Regions from separate parts of the Homo sapiens genome. Here region 2 is linked to region 1. The links are contacts of gene promoters, found by promoter capture Hi-C in blood cells and fetal thymus (Javierre and others, 2016). All regions are on one chromosome and are shown on one strand. Each heading gives the region's core, a stretch centred on a gene start or on the middle of the fragment in contact. The rest is flanking DNA. Distances are from core to core; before and after follow the strand shown. Region 1 holds the start of GASK1A (golgi associated kinase 1A). Region 2 has its middle 60 kb from the start of TOPAZ1.

Region 1 (5,901 bases), core at 1,479-3,978:
GGATTCTATACTTTTATTTGTATACTTCTAACCCAGAGTTTCCCATCATACGTATCTTGGATCAATAATAGGATGGCATTAGGGAAATACTGAATAAAGGATACCGTATTCAAACAAGCTGGGCAAGTTCAAATCTCAGTGTAATGAATTAAAAGACAATACTCTGTGGAAGGACCCTCAAAGAGATATAGCATGTGATATATGTGATATCATATAATGGGAAATGATATAGCATCTATCATTTCCCAAAAACTATTTTAGGACTATCTCAAGGAATGACCACTCTGTGGACATAGGGATATCTTGGGAAGTGCAGCTTTGAGCCCCAGCTTTCTCCCGTTCTCTCAGCCTTCTTGCCCTGTGGTTCTCAGCCCTGGCAGCACACTGGGCTCACTTGCAGAGCCTGAAAACATCCCTTGGTCTGGGTCTCATCTGGATTTGGGCTGGGGGATGGGGGCAGCCTGAGTCAGGGCTGAGAACCACTTCTTCCCCACACCTTTTTAGTTGTTCATGCTAAGCACAGCTCAACACTAGAATTGAGATCCAATCTCAAAATTATTCACATATCACCCATTTTTGGAGCTAAATGGCACCTTGAATAACATCTAGTCCAATCTCTCATCTAACAGAAGAGGAAACTAAGGTCCTCAAAGGATTCCTAGCCCCCTGTCTCCTCCCATGCTGCTTCTAGCCAGTGCCAGGCTGCCCTGTGGTCTCTGGACCTCAAGACCCTTCATTCAGATGGAGAAGCAAAGGACAGCCTTCAGATCTCCAAGGCCATTTCACTGCCAGAGGATGACCATCAGGCCCCTCTCTCTGCAAGTGAACCCTGAGACAGTGAAATGTTGACACAAGTCCTCTTCCTAACACAATACCAGAACCCAGAGCCAGGGACGTGAAACCGGGAAGCTGCAATGACTCACAGAACGGGAAGCTTACGCTGGCAGTGGGGCAAACACACCAATGTTCCCCTAGGCAGCCTGAGCAGAAGGCAGGTACCATCTCTCCTCCAGGCACTCTGCTTCAGCCGCAGACCACAGAGCCTCTGCTACATTTGCCTTTAAAGCCAGGAGACTCCAGCATGCTAATGCCCCTCGGAGTGGATGGCTGTGGCCTGAGTTCTGGTAACACTCTTGCTCCTAAACAGGGAATTTGTAATAGGATATCTCCACACTTTTCGTTTCACATCCTGTACCCCCAATCATTCCCCCTTTTGAAGCTTAAGATTCCACTATTTCCTTCTCTTAGCAGCTTTGAGAAAAAACCTGAAGCTGGATAGGTGTTAGGAGGGGTGAAACATACACACACCCCTAGCCTCAAAGGTACCCTTCCCTGAGCCCCCAGCTCCTTATGACCAGCCCTCCACCTCTGTTCCAGCCACCTGCCAGGCCCCCCTGCACACAAAGGAGCTGTTCTCACAGAGACCCTCCATCCTACAGCGCAGTCTCTAGACAGCCTTCTAAACCCCAGGCCCAGCAAAACTCCCCACAAAGCATCTCCAGTGGGTTCCGATCTGCCTTCTGTGAGCTTGGAAGGAAAGGGAAGAGGCGAGCAGGCACGGAAGCAGCCAGGGGAGCCCAGTGAACTGCAGGAGCCCAGTTGGGGTTGCAGGGGTTTTCTGCTGCGGGAGAAGCAGAGCAACTAACCAGCGGCCGGGCCTGAGGGACGCCCCTTTCCTGGGGTTGCATGTGTCCTTTAGCTAAGCCGCCTGGGCCACATTCTCGATGGGTTTTTCTTTTCTGCCTGTTAGTGTCTGTGAAGTTGATCAATGGAAGGGCCACGTCCACAAGATCCTGGTTTCATCGTGACATCCCAGACCCACCAGTGCTTCCACATCTGCCCAACAGTCCTCCTGTCGGGGAGGTAGAGGAAGGCGGATTGGAACCTTACTAGAGCCAATTTAACTCAATGTTAATTTAGTTATTAAATGTTAATAAACGTTAGGACATTATTTTTAATATCAATACATAGCTAAATTAGAGAAGATAGTATAAAATTCACATGAACTTTGGAGAGTATTAAAATGACTTCAAAAGCATCTCATCAGAGGCTGCCGTGGGTTCCCCAGGGAACGCTCCCCTCTCCCTGCCTTGTGGATTGCATGAAGATTGCAGAGTTGCGAGTGGGTTACGGTTAGGTCAAGGAGTGCAGATTAGTAATAAAAGCCCCCTTATTACGGTCCGCCCCACTAAGAGCGGCAGGAAAGCCGATCGCCCCCAGCTCTGGTGCAGAAATGAAAGCCGCCGCCGCCCCATGCAACTTTCGGGGAACAACTCCGGCCTCGGGAGGCCGCGCAGGCTGCGCGCGCCCTGGGCCGCTGCGCGTTGACTGCAGCCACCTGTCCTGGTGATCGCCCCACCCTCCGCTCGCGCGTTCCTTCCCGCGAGTCCTACCATGTCCCCGGCGGTGCCCCGGCCGGCTCCTCGGCGCGCTCAGCCGGCTCGCAGACTCATCCCGCCTCCCCTTGGCCGCCCCCGGCGCCGTGGCTCGCCAGGCTTCCCAGGATGCGCGGCTACTCGGCTGGGGCGGGTTTCCCGGACTGAAGGTGCACACGTTCTCTGCAGCCAAGTGGCCCTGCGCCAACTCTCGGGAGATCGCTGCACACCGGGATACTCCGCGGGTGGGGAATACACGCCGGATCTACTGAGATCTACGGGGATCTGAGGGAGCCTACCCGCGGCCGCGAGCCTCTGCGGTCTACTCGGGACTTTTGCAGAGTTTGCAAAGTCCCTGCCGCGCGTCCCGGCCCAGCTTCCCCATTCCCCTGAAAGCGCGGGAGGGGGAAGCTCCCTTCACAATAAAAGCCCTGCCGGGGGCTCGGCCAGCCGCAGTCTTCTGGTCTTCTGGAGTAGGGGCCCAGGTGCTAGGAAGGAAAGGTCTACGCCCTGACTGCCCGCCTGACGGGTGATGCACCAAGGCTGGACGGTGAGGGACGCCTCTAAGGTGTGAGGGTGCTTGGTGAGTTCGCTGCAACTCAGCAATATGGCTGAGTGTTGCCCAAACTGCCACCCTCTCCTGCCAAGCAGGACAAGTCTTTTTCTTTACTGTCGCTTGTCAGAAGGACAAGTCTTTTTTTACTGTCACTTCTTCGCCTTGTTTGGGTTCAGTCCCCAAGAGGATTTGGAAGGAAAATCCGTTGACCACTAAGCTAATTAACAATGAAGAGTTTTTGTCCTTGAGAACTAATCACTGTTAAAGTCACTGAAGTAAGTGGCTGATACCTCTCTGCTTTGGATGCACAGACAGTGCCTTTGTGTCCCCTGAGTCACCTACTGCCAACAAAGGCACAGTCAGAGCAAGACCTGAGAGTCTATCCGTTCCCCGTTGGGGAATGTCCTGGGCTTAGGGGTTCTGTAGTCCCAAAATCAGGGCTAGCCCCACTATTAACAGCTGGATGACCATCGACCAGTCCCCAGACGTCTTTATGACTTGTGTCCCCCAGTGGCCCAATGTTTGGACCCCAGGATTATTAAGAGCCTGTAGACAATGGATGGAGGCGAGGCAGAGTCAGCAGTAGGGTGCTCTGAGAGAATTTGGGGGCCAGGCTGAAAAATTAGCCTCCAGTACTGAAACTAACAGGAAGCATCATTAGCTAGATGAAGACAGGCATCTTCCCAGCAGTCTCCTGCCCCAGAATGATCTGAGGTTATCACTGATGGCAGTGCTTCTAAAGGGAAGCAAAGATCCAGAGAGTCCCCTTAAATTGTGTATGTGTGTATGGGCAGGAGGAACAGATGAAGGGAAAGTATTCGGTCCTTAACATTCCAGATGCTTTCTGTACATTATTTCATTTAATAACCACAAACGATCCTAAAAGGAAAACTTTTGCAAATTAGGAAAGTCAGGATTAGGGAGGTGAAGTAACTTTCCTGAGACCAGATCGCCAGTAAACAGTTTAGCAAATCCAAGTCTATTTGCCAGAACATGAAACAAAGAGGAAGACTTGATATGGCAGGAACAGGAGGCAGGATGTAGCACTGCAAACTGCAGCTTGTCTGTGCATATGGACTACTGAAAGGACAGAGAGTTTGAGCCCTGGTTGGGAAATGAGGGAAGAGGGTGGAGGACAGTACAAACCATTCAGGGTTTTATTTAGATGTTTAGGGAGACGCTGTGATCTTTTGAGTCTCATTTTCTGACTGTGACCCCACACAAGATATATATTAAACATATATGTATAAATGTAACTAAAAGATTGTTTTATAAAACATTACTTCATGTGATGCACTCTGACATTTTCTATTCTATTCCAATTTTATGTATTTTTAATGATGGTCTCAAATCACTAACTTAGACAGGAAGAGAGTGCCCAGTATTTCCAGGATTACTGGAAGCAGAACTGTTTTTCAAAAGAAGCAGCTCCAATGACTCATGGAACACACTTGGGAAAAGCTGCTGCAGGATCTAGCCCAGCCAAATAAAATGTCACACAAGAACATGGCTAAGCTGTAAAGAATTGTTTGTTGTTATAGCATATCCTGGTCCATCCTAATAACATGAATAAAATTACTTTTAAGAAGAATTACTTGAAAAGAGTCATAAATCAGATTTTTGTCATTTCTCTGCTCAAAACCTACCAGAGGCTTCAAATCTCCTGCAGTGTAACATGCCACATCTTACAGGGGCCTACAAGTCCTTTCACACTTTGGCCCTCATTGGTTCTCTAACATTATCTCTGCACACTCTCTCTCACTGTGCTCCAGGACACACTCACCTTCTTATTGTCCCTTGCATATTACAGGCAAGATCCCACCTCAGGACCTTTGCACTTGTTATCCCTCTCCCTAGAATGCCCCAGATATCCCCATGGTTTGCTCCCTCATCTCCTTCAGGTCTTTGCCCAAGTGTCACCTCTTTAGTGAAGCCTTCTCTGACCACTCTATTTAAGATTGCACACTCCATTCCTCTTCAGTTCCACCTTGTAATTCTTTTTTTTTTTTTTTTTTTTTTTTGAGACGGAGTCTCGCTCTGTCGCCCAGGCCGGACTGCGGACTGCAGTGGCGCAATCTCGGCTCACTGCAAGCTCCGCTTCCCGGGTTCACGCCATTCTCCTGCCTCAGCCTCCCGAGTAGCTGGGACTACAGGCGCCCGCCACCGCGCCCGGCTAATTTTTTGTATTTTTAGTAGAGACGGGGTTTCACCTTGTTAGCCAGGATGGTCTCGATCTCCTGACCTCATGATCCACCTGCCTCGGCCTCCCAAAGTGCTGGGATTACAGGCGTGAGCCACCGCGCCTGGCCGCAACTTCTTGGAAGCTATATTAAAGGGTTTTAAATTTAGATAACCAGTAAATCCCTCCCTTCTAGGAAACAACACTTCATGTTTTGTTACTTTCCAAATTTTTGTTGACTGGTGGTTGGCTGCTCCCAGGTTGTTGGCAGAGCCTCTGGTTACACTGCAGACCTTGCAAGTAGGAAATACTCAACTCACTCCACTGGGACAGGTTGGTGCTAGAGAGGAATATTTTATTATTTTCATGACAGGGTGCTCCAGGTTCATTAGGAGTGAGTCTATCTTTCACCAGTTAGCAGATTTCCAACTTGCTCTAAGGACGTTTTAGGGTTTCTTATAAACTGGTACCCCAGGCAGCGGCCCAACAGGCCCACTCTCTAATAAGATTCCATGTCTAGCTCCATTCCAGACTTACTGAATCAAAATTTCCAAGGCTTGAGTGTCTTTATATTTTTTAAGCATAGCCAGGGCTGAGAACTGCTGAACGACGCAATTCCTCTTCCTTGGCTCCCATATCCAAATGGCCTTTCTAAATGATTCTGGAATCTTTCTCCTCCTCACGGCCAGTTCTTTGGCTCAAACTTTTGTCATCACTTACAGTACTCTCAGAAACTCAACTAGCATCTCAGGCTCTACTTTTGCTCTTTCCAATCCATCCTGCACATTACT
Region 2 (5,901 bases), core at 1,605-4,104, 1.2 Mb before region 1:
TTCCAAAATGAGATTTACAGTTCTGGCCCGCCCCCTTTCGGGAGGAAACACCTGCTCCAGCAGCTTTGTGAACGGCCTCTTATTATCAACTTCTGTGCAGGGATCAGATTTTTGCAGCTAACTAGTGCCTGGTGTGAAATAAAAGCTATTTTGAGGTGGGAGGAGTTCTCAACCTTTCCTCTTGGAATTTTATGTCTTCATTAATTTCTCTCTCATCCATTATTTCCAGGTCTGCTTTCTTCCACAATTATTCCTTCTCTAGCTGCTTTTCCTTTCTAAAACTTCAGAACAGTGCTTTGGAGACCAAGCTAGGGCTTACTAGTAGTTCCCAACACTTCCTGCCCATCAGAATTATCAAGGGCACACAAATGTTATGCCTGGGCCACTTTCCAGCTCACTTAAGTCAGAATCTTTAGGGGTAGGTCCCTGGCATAGAAATATAAGTTCCTTAGCTGATTCTAATATGTAGCCAAGGTTCAGAACTACAGGCTACACAAATGATGCTTAAGAAGTAAGACAGAGTTGGACAGTCCTGATGAATTGAGGTTTAGCTTAATACCTGCCTGCAAGTCTCTAGAAGCAGGATTTAGTCCCAAAGATGAGCTGTGAGGAGCTGGATTATTTTTTCTTGGCTTTTCTCTTGTTATATGAATGATACATGTTCATTGAAGATTTAGAAAATGCAGAAACAGAAAAATCTATAACCATTCAGAACTACAGTTAATATTTTGGTGTATATTTTAATGTATGTCTCTTTTAAGCTAATTTTTATGCACATGTACAGAGCTGCTTGAATGAAAAATGGGATCAAACTATGTACCCTAGTAACCCTTTTAAAATTATGAGTCACTTTCTATGTGAGTAAATACAACATGGAACACAATCTAAATTGGTGGCGTAGCATTGTTTAATCGGCCTCCTATTAATAGATTTTAGGCTACTGTTCTCTTACAATAAACACCATGATGTCTACTCTTATTGCCAAATTTTTGCCCACATATCCATGATATTTTTCTGATCTTTTCTCTCTGCTCATTGACTGGGTCATCTTGCCTAGTCCCGTAGCTTTAAATATACTCCAAATTCTAATATGCCAAAATATAGACAATTCAAAAATATTTTATTCAAAAGGAGTTATTATGATGCTCCTCTGGCTGCCTATACCTCATCTCCTATCTGCTTCTTGTATGTTTGTTTTTTTTTCATACCAGAAATCTAGACATCACCCTCAATTCTTCCTTAACTCCCACAGCAGAATCTTTCCCCATCAATCCCTGCACAGGACTTGTTGGTTCAAGTTCCACATTGTCCTGAATCTATCTACATCTTTGTATCTTCTATCATCTCCTACTCTAAGCCACCCTCAACTCTCATTTGGACTAAAGTTTTCACTCTTGACCTTCTTATATCTTTTCTTCATATTGCTACCACAATGATCTCCCTTAGGCCTAAATCAGATGATGGCATTTCCCACTTTGCAGAGTTTCATGGCTCTCCATCTTCTAGAATAAAATTCACGACTTCGTGTCATGATCCACAGGCCCTGCAGATCTAGCTCCCGCTTATCTTGCTAATCTCATCATTCTACTTCTCCACTTGATGACTAGGCTGTAGTCATACTTGTATTCTTTCCGTTCTTAAGTATGCTAACTTCTTTCCCCCCTTGGGACTTTGATACTTGCAGTGCAGCATCCACCTAATGCAAGGGGAACTCGTGCAAACATGAAGCTTATGTTTCTTGTTGTTCCACGAGTAATTAAATCCTTTGATCTAGGAGTACTTTGACCATGAAATGGTGGCAGGCTAATTTGTTAACTTGCAAGTAGGGTAAAATCTCAGACCCTTTACAATTATTGACATTCACCATGCCAGTGTTCTTGGGAGGAAACCTTAACTCAGAGGAGGTCAAATATGCCTGGCTGCTTACTGAACACATTGCTTTTGAACAGACCTGGCAAATCACTTCTCAAGTACTATAGCTTCCCCCATCCCCTTCCCCACTATACCCACTTTCAACTGACTATTAAACCATACTGCACTAAAAATTTCAGCTCTAATCAATGGAAGAAGCAGGAGTGATTATCTCTCAACGCTCATAGCAGTCCTATTTGGCCTATGAGTAAAGTGGGTGGCTCCTGGGGACAAATGTTGGCAATCATGGCTTTTCACCAAACTAGACACAGTGAAAACTATTTAGGAAGTGCAACAGATTGAAAATGTGACAGATTTGACGAATGCTTGCTTTTCTGTATGAATTTCAAAAGGAAGCCAGGCACAATTCATTTTCTTACAGGAAGAAATGCAGTATGCATTTCTGAATTCTCCAATGTATGCTCACAACCTGGTGAGAAGCAATTTGGATTTGGTTACTATCAAAAGTTGTTTTTCACATTGATATTATGATGACCTCCTTTTCAAAAGAAGCAGGCAGGGAAGACTGGAGAACTCCAGTAGCACATATGACCAGCTGAAGATGGTTACTTCACTTGTTCCTATCAGTTCAATTTGGGGAAATAATTTGGGCAAAGATTATGCAGACAGGAAACATTACTGCTCAGGGTGCTATTTGTTTCTTAGAATTTTATCGTGCTTTTTAACAAAGACAAGTGCGAACTGGTGACTTTACCTCGTGTGTCTAAACTAAGACTGCCTCTAAATCCTGCCCAGCTGCCTACATGTATAGTTCCATAATCCTTGGCTTGTCTGACCCCCTGCCTTCTCTTTCCTGTGAATAGACAAAGACATGGCCAGCCTAACCCTGCTGTCTGCTCTGGGGTCGGCAGTGTAGCTGAATCCATGGATCTAAATTCATTATCTGATTTGAGACAGACAATGAATGGGCAAAAGGGGAAATCGTGACAGATGGCGATAGAGCACACAAATAGACGGTGATGCCAGGAAAGGATGTCACTATCTTCTCAAGACTGCATCTTGAGCTGGGTGCAGTGGCTCACGTCTGTAATCCTAGCACTTTGGGGTGGGTGGATCACTTGAGGTCAGGAGTTTGAGACCAGCCTGGCCTGCATGGTGAAACCCCATCTCTACTAAAAATACAAAAATTAGCCCGGCATGGTGACAGGTGCCTGTAATTCCAGCTAGTTGGGAGGTTGAGGCAGGCAGGAGAATCGCTTGAACTCAGGAGGCAGAGGTTGCAGTGAGCTGGGATCGTGCCACTGCACTGTATATAGCCTGGGTGACAGAGTGAGACTCTGTCTCCAAAAAAAAAAAAAAAAAAAAATTGCATCCTGGAACAAGAGAATAATACAGTTAGGTGTTTGTGGTGCCAAACCATGGCAGATTCTGGGAGAAGCCCCTGGATTTGCTTTCCCTTGAGAAAATTTGGACTGAAGCTAGAATACAAGGTATGCTAATTACTTGCTTGATCGATTGACAGGGTTTCACTCTGTTACTCGGGCTGGAGTGCAGTGGCGCAGTTAGTTCACTGCAGACTCAAACTCCTGGGCTCAAGCAGTCCTCCCACCCCAGCCTCCCAAGTAGGTAGAACTACAGGATCATGACTGACCCAAGGAATAGTTTAGAATTTTACTAGGTTAATTAGAGAAAATATACCAATCAATAGCCCTTTGGTCAACCTGAATGATAGCCGGCTGGATCATTATTTGGGTAGCTTTTGTTTGTTTTGGTTATGTTTGTGATATTGGTTCTTTTGTAGCCCTTAGCTTTGAACTTGCATGTACCTGGCAGCTGATACATTGTAATGTTGTAATTCAGGGTGGCATCTAGGTAAAGATATAAAAAAGTTGCATCTTACTGCTTACACAGTGTCTCAGAATTCACTTTGCTTTTTGACTATACCAGATGTGGATGTGGATGAAAAACCATGCAATCAAGCATTCAGGAATCAGAAGGGTGTCCACGAGGGTGAATACCTATGTGATATGGTCACCCCATCCCACTGGCTCCCCTGGAACTTTGGGATGGCAGATGGGTGGTGCTGTATAGTGAAACCTGGAAGCTTGGGTTTGTGAGAACTTGTTTCTTGGTTGCAAGGGTATGATCATGGCCTGGGACCAGTGGAACTCAAAGTTTACTGAGCAGTGGCCTTTAATGACCACCTCAATTAAGAAAAATAAGTGATATTTGAGACAAAGGATGTTTTTGCTTGGAAGGTTGGGGAAATGACACCATTATATTAACTGATGTATGATGTAGTAAGCATTACTTTAATCTCTGTAATCATTATAGAGTATAATAAAAGATTTCTAGCTTCATGTATAGAGCTAAATGAAAATCAAGCCAATGTAGCAGATGATCTCCAGGATGAACAGGATGAAAAGATGTTTCGGGAAGTAGTCTTAAAACCTCCAATTGATGTAATTCCCATCAAAACTTGCCAAAAGACACCATGGAGTTGAATGCTTCTATCGATATCTATTAAAAATGTGCAAACAATGGGTGGGGAGGGGGGAGAATATAGAAGGGAAGAGTGGAACAATTGGTACCATATTATATATCAGAACATTTGTGAATGGGGCAGAGTGTTGTTAACATGCTTTGCAGAAATAATCCCAACTCTTCATTGGAGGATGTAGATCTTAGTGGTTGTCTGTATTTTAGCATATTTATTTTGTTGTACAACAAATATGGTGGAAATTACTATATTAAGAATAAGAAAATACCTCAAACATGTATCAACATGTTTTAATGGGGATCAGGAAGTGAGCTGGAAGGAGGTTAGCAGCTGCTTCTGTAGTATTTCCTTGAGCCTCAGGGATAGCTGAGGATCTTCTTGCAGCATTAACTCAAAGAATTGTTGGGATGATATGCTACTGATAACATAAAATCCATCTGAGGATTATGTACAGGTGTCGCATGTTGTCAAAATTTGTTATTGAATAATGAATAATTGATATTGAGATGCAGCTGCCCTAAAGAATCAAGACTAGTCATATGCCTGAGGGGCTGTAAGGCCAGCTGGCATAAAGCCGAAAGAGCTCAGAGCCCATGGCTTCCCTGAGCTGGGGTCAGCAGCAGTCACTCAGTCTCGTCTCTTATGACCACACATGTTCCGAGTTCAGAATGGCTGGGACACCAGCAGCTGTGCCCAGGAGTCACAGGACCTATGCTCTGCCATTGCTGTGCATGCCAGGATATTTCATGCTCTCTATCCTTTATTAAAGCTAAACACACTTGGTGCTAGTTGAGGCCTGTTGTGTCTTATGAGATTGTCTATCTGAACCCAAGTCTACAGGGGCTAGTAGAATAGATATTGCAGTGACTTTATTATGTATTTTATATTGTTTTATTCTTAGTTGTAGTATTCATAGCCACAAGGAACAGTTAATGGAAAGTAGAAAGTATGAGGAAATTGATTTTGAAATATATGTTTAAAAAGAAAAATGATAATTCCTCAAATTTGCTTCAAGATGCTCTGCCTAGAACTGTAAGTTGCACTTATCTGATCAAGATCTTTATATAGCAGATCAACATGTCTCTCTGCTTAAGCAACCAGTGCTAAAAAGGAAATATGGTGAAAATTACTCCAATTTGGCTTTCTATTTATTGGGAATAAATACTATGCACATCTGTAATATGGTATTCATAGAGAAATACTTGCAAAAAGCAGCCTAAAACTTTCACTCAAATCTTGCCTGTCATTTAAAAAAAATCATGAAGGTTGTGATAAATATATATTTGGTATTACATAGAGGAAAACAACACACAGCTGGGCCCTTGGGAAGGTGGAGGGTGGAAGGAGGGAGAAGATCAGAAGAAATAACTAATGGGTACTAGGCTTAATACCTGGGTAATGAAATAATCTGTACAACAAACCCCCATGACACATGTTTACCTATGTAACAAACCTGCACATGTACCTTGAACTTAAAAGTTTAAAAACAAGTAATATATTTGATCTTTCTCCCTGGTTCCTGGCACACA

Evidence for each region. The method cuts DNA at HindIII sites, captures the fragments that hold promoters and counts their contacts. A CHiCAGO score of 5 or more calls a contact.
Region 2: a contact is called between a fragment that was not itself captured here and the fragment with the promoter of GASK1A in region 1, in 1 of 17 cell types (endothelial precursors). The highest score is 5.9, in endothelial precursors.

The regions. Positions count from the first base shown.
Region 1 is chr3:42,976,138-42,982,038 of GRCh38, reverse strand. It overlaps GASK1A (golgi associated kinase 1A), which reads right to left and starts at 2,728. Exons shown (of 5, transcript NM_001129908.3): 1 at 2,394-2,728. The coding sequence starts at 2,396. The HindIII fragment of the contact is 11,487 bases long and covers 1,222-5,901 here.
Region 2 is chr3:44,178,530-44,184,430 of GRCh38, reverse strand. No RefSeq gene overlaps it. Among named protein-coding and RNA genes, the nearest start is that of TOPAZ1, 60 kb to the left of the region's middle. The HindIII fragment of the contact is 2,248 bases long and covers 1,731-3,978 here.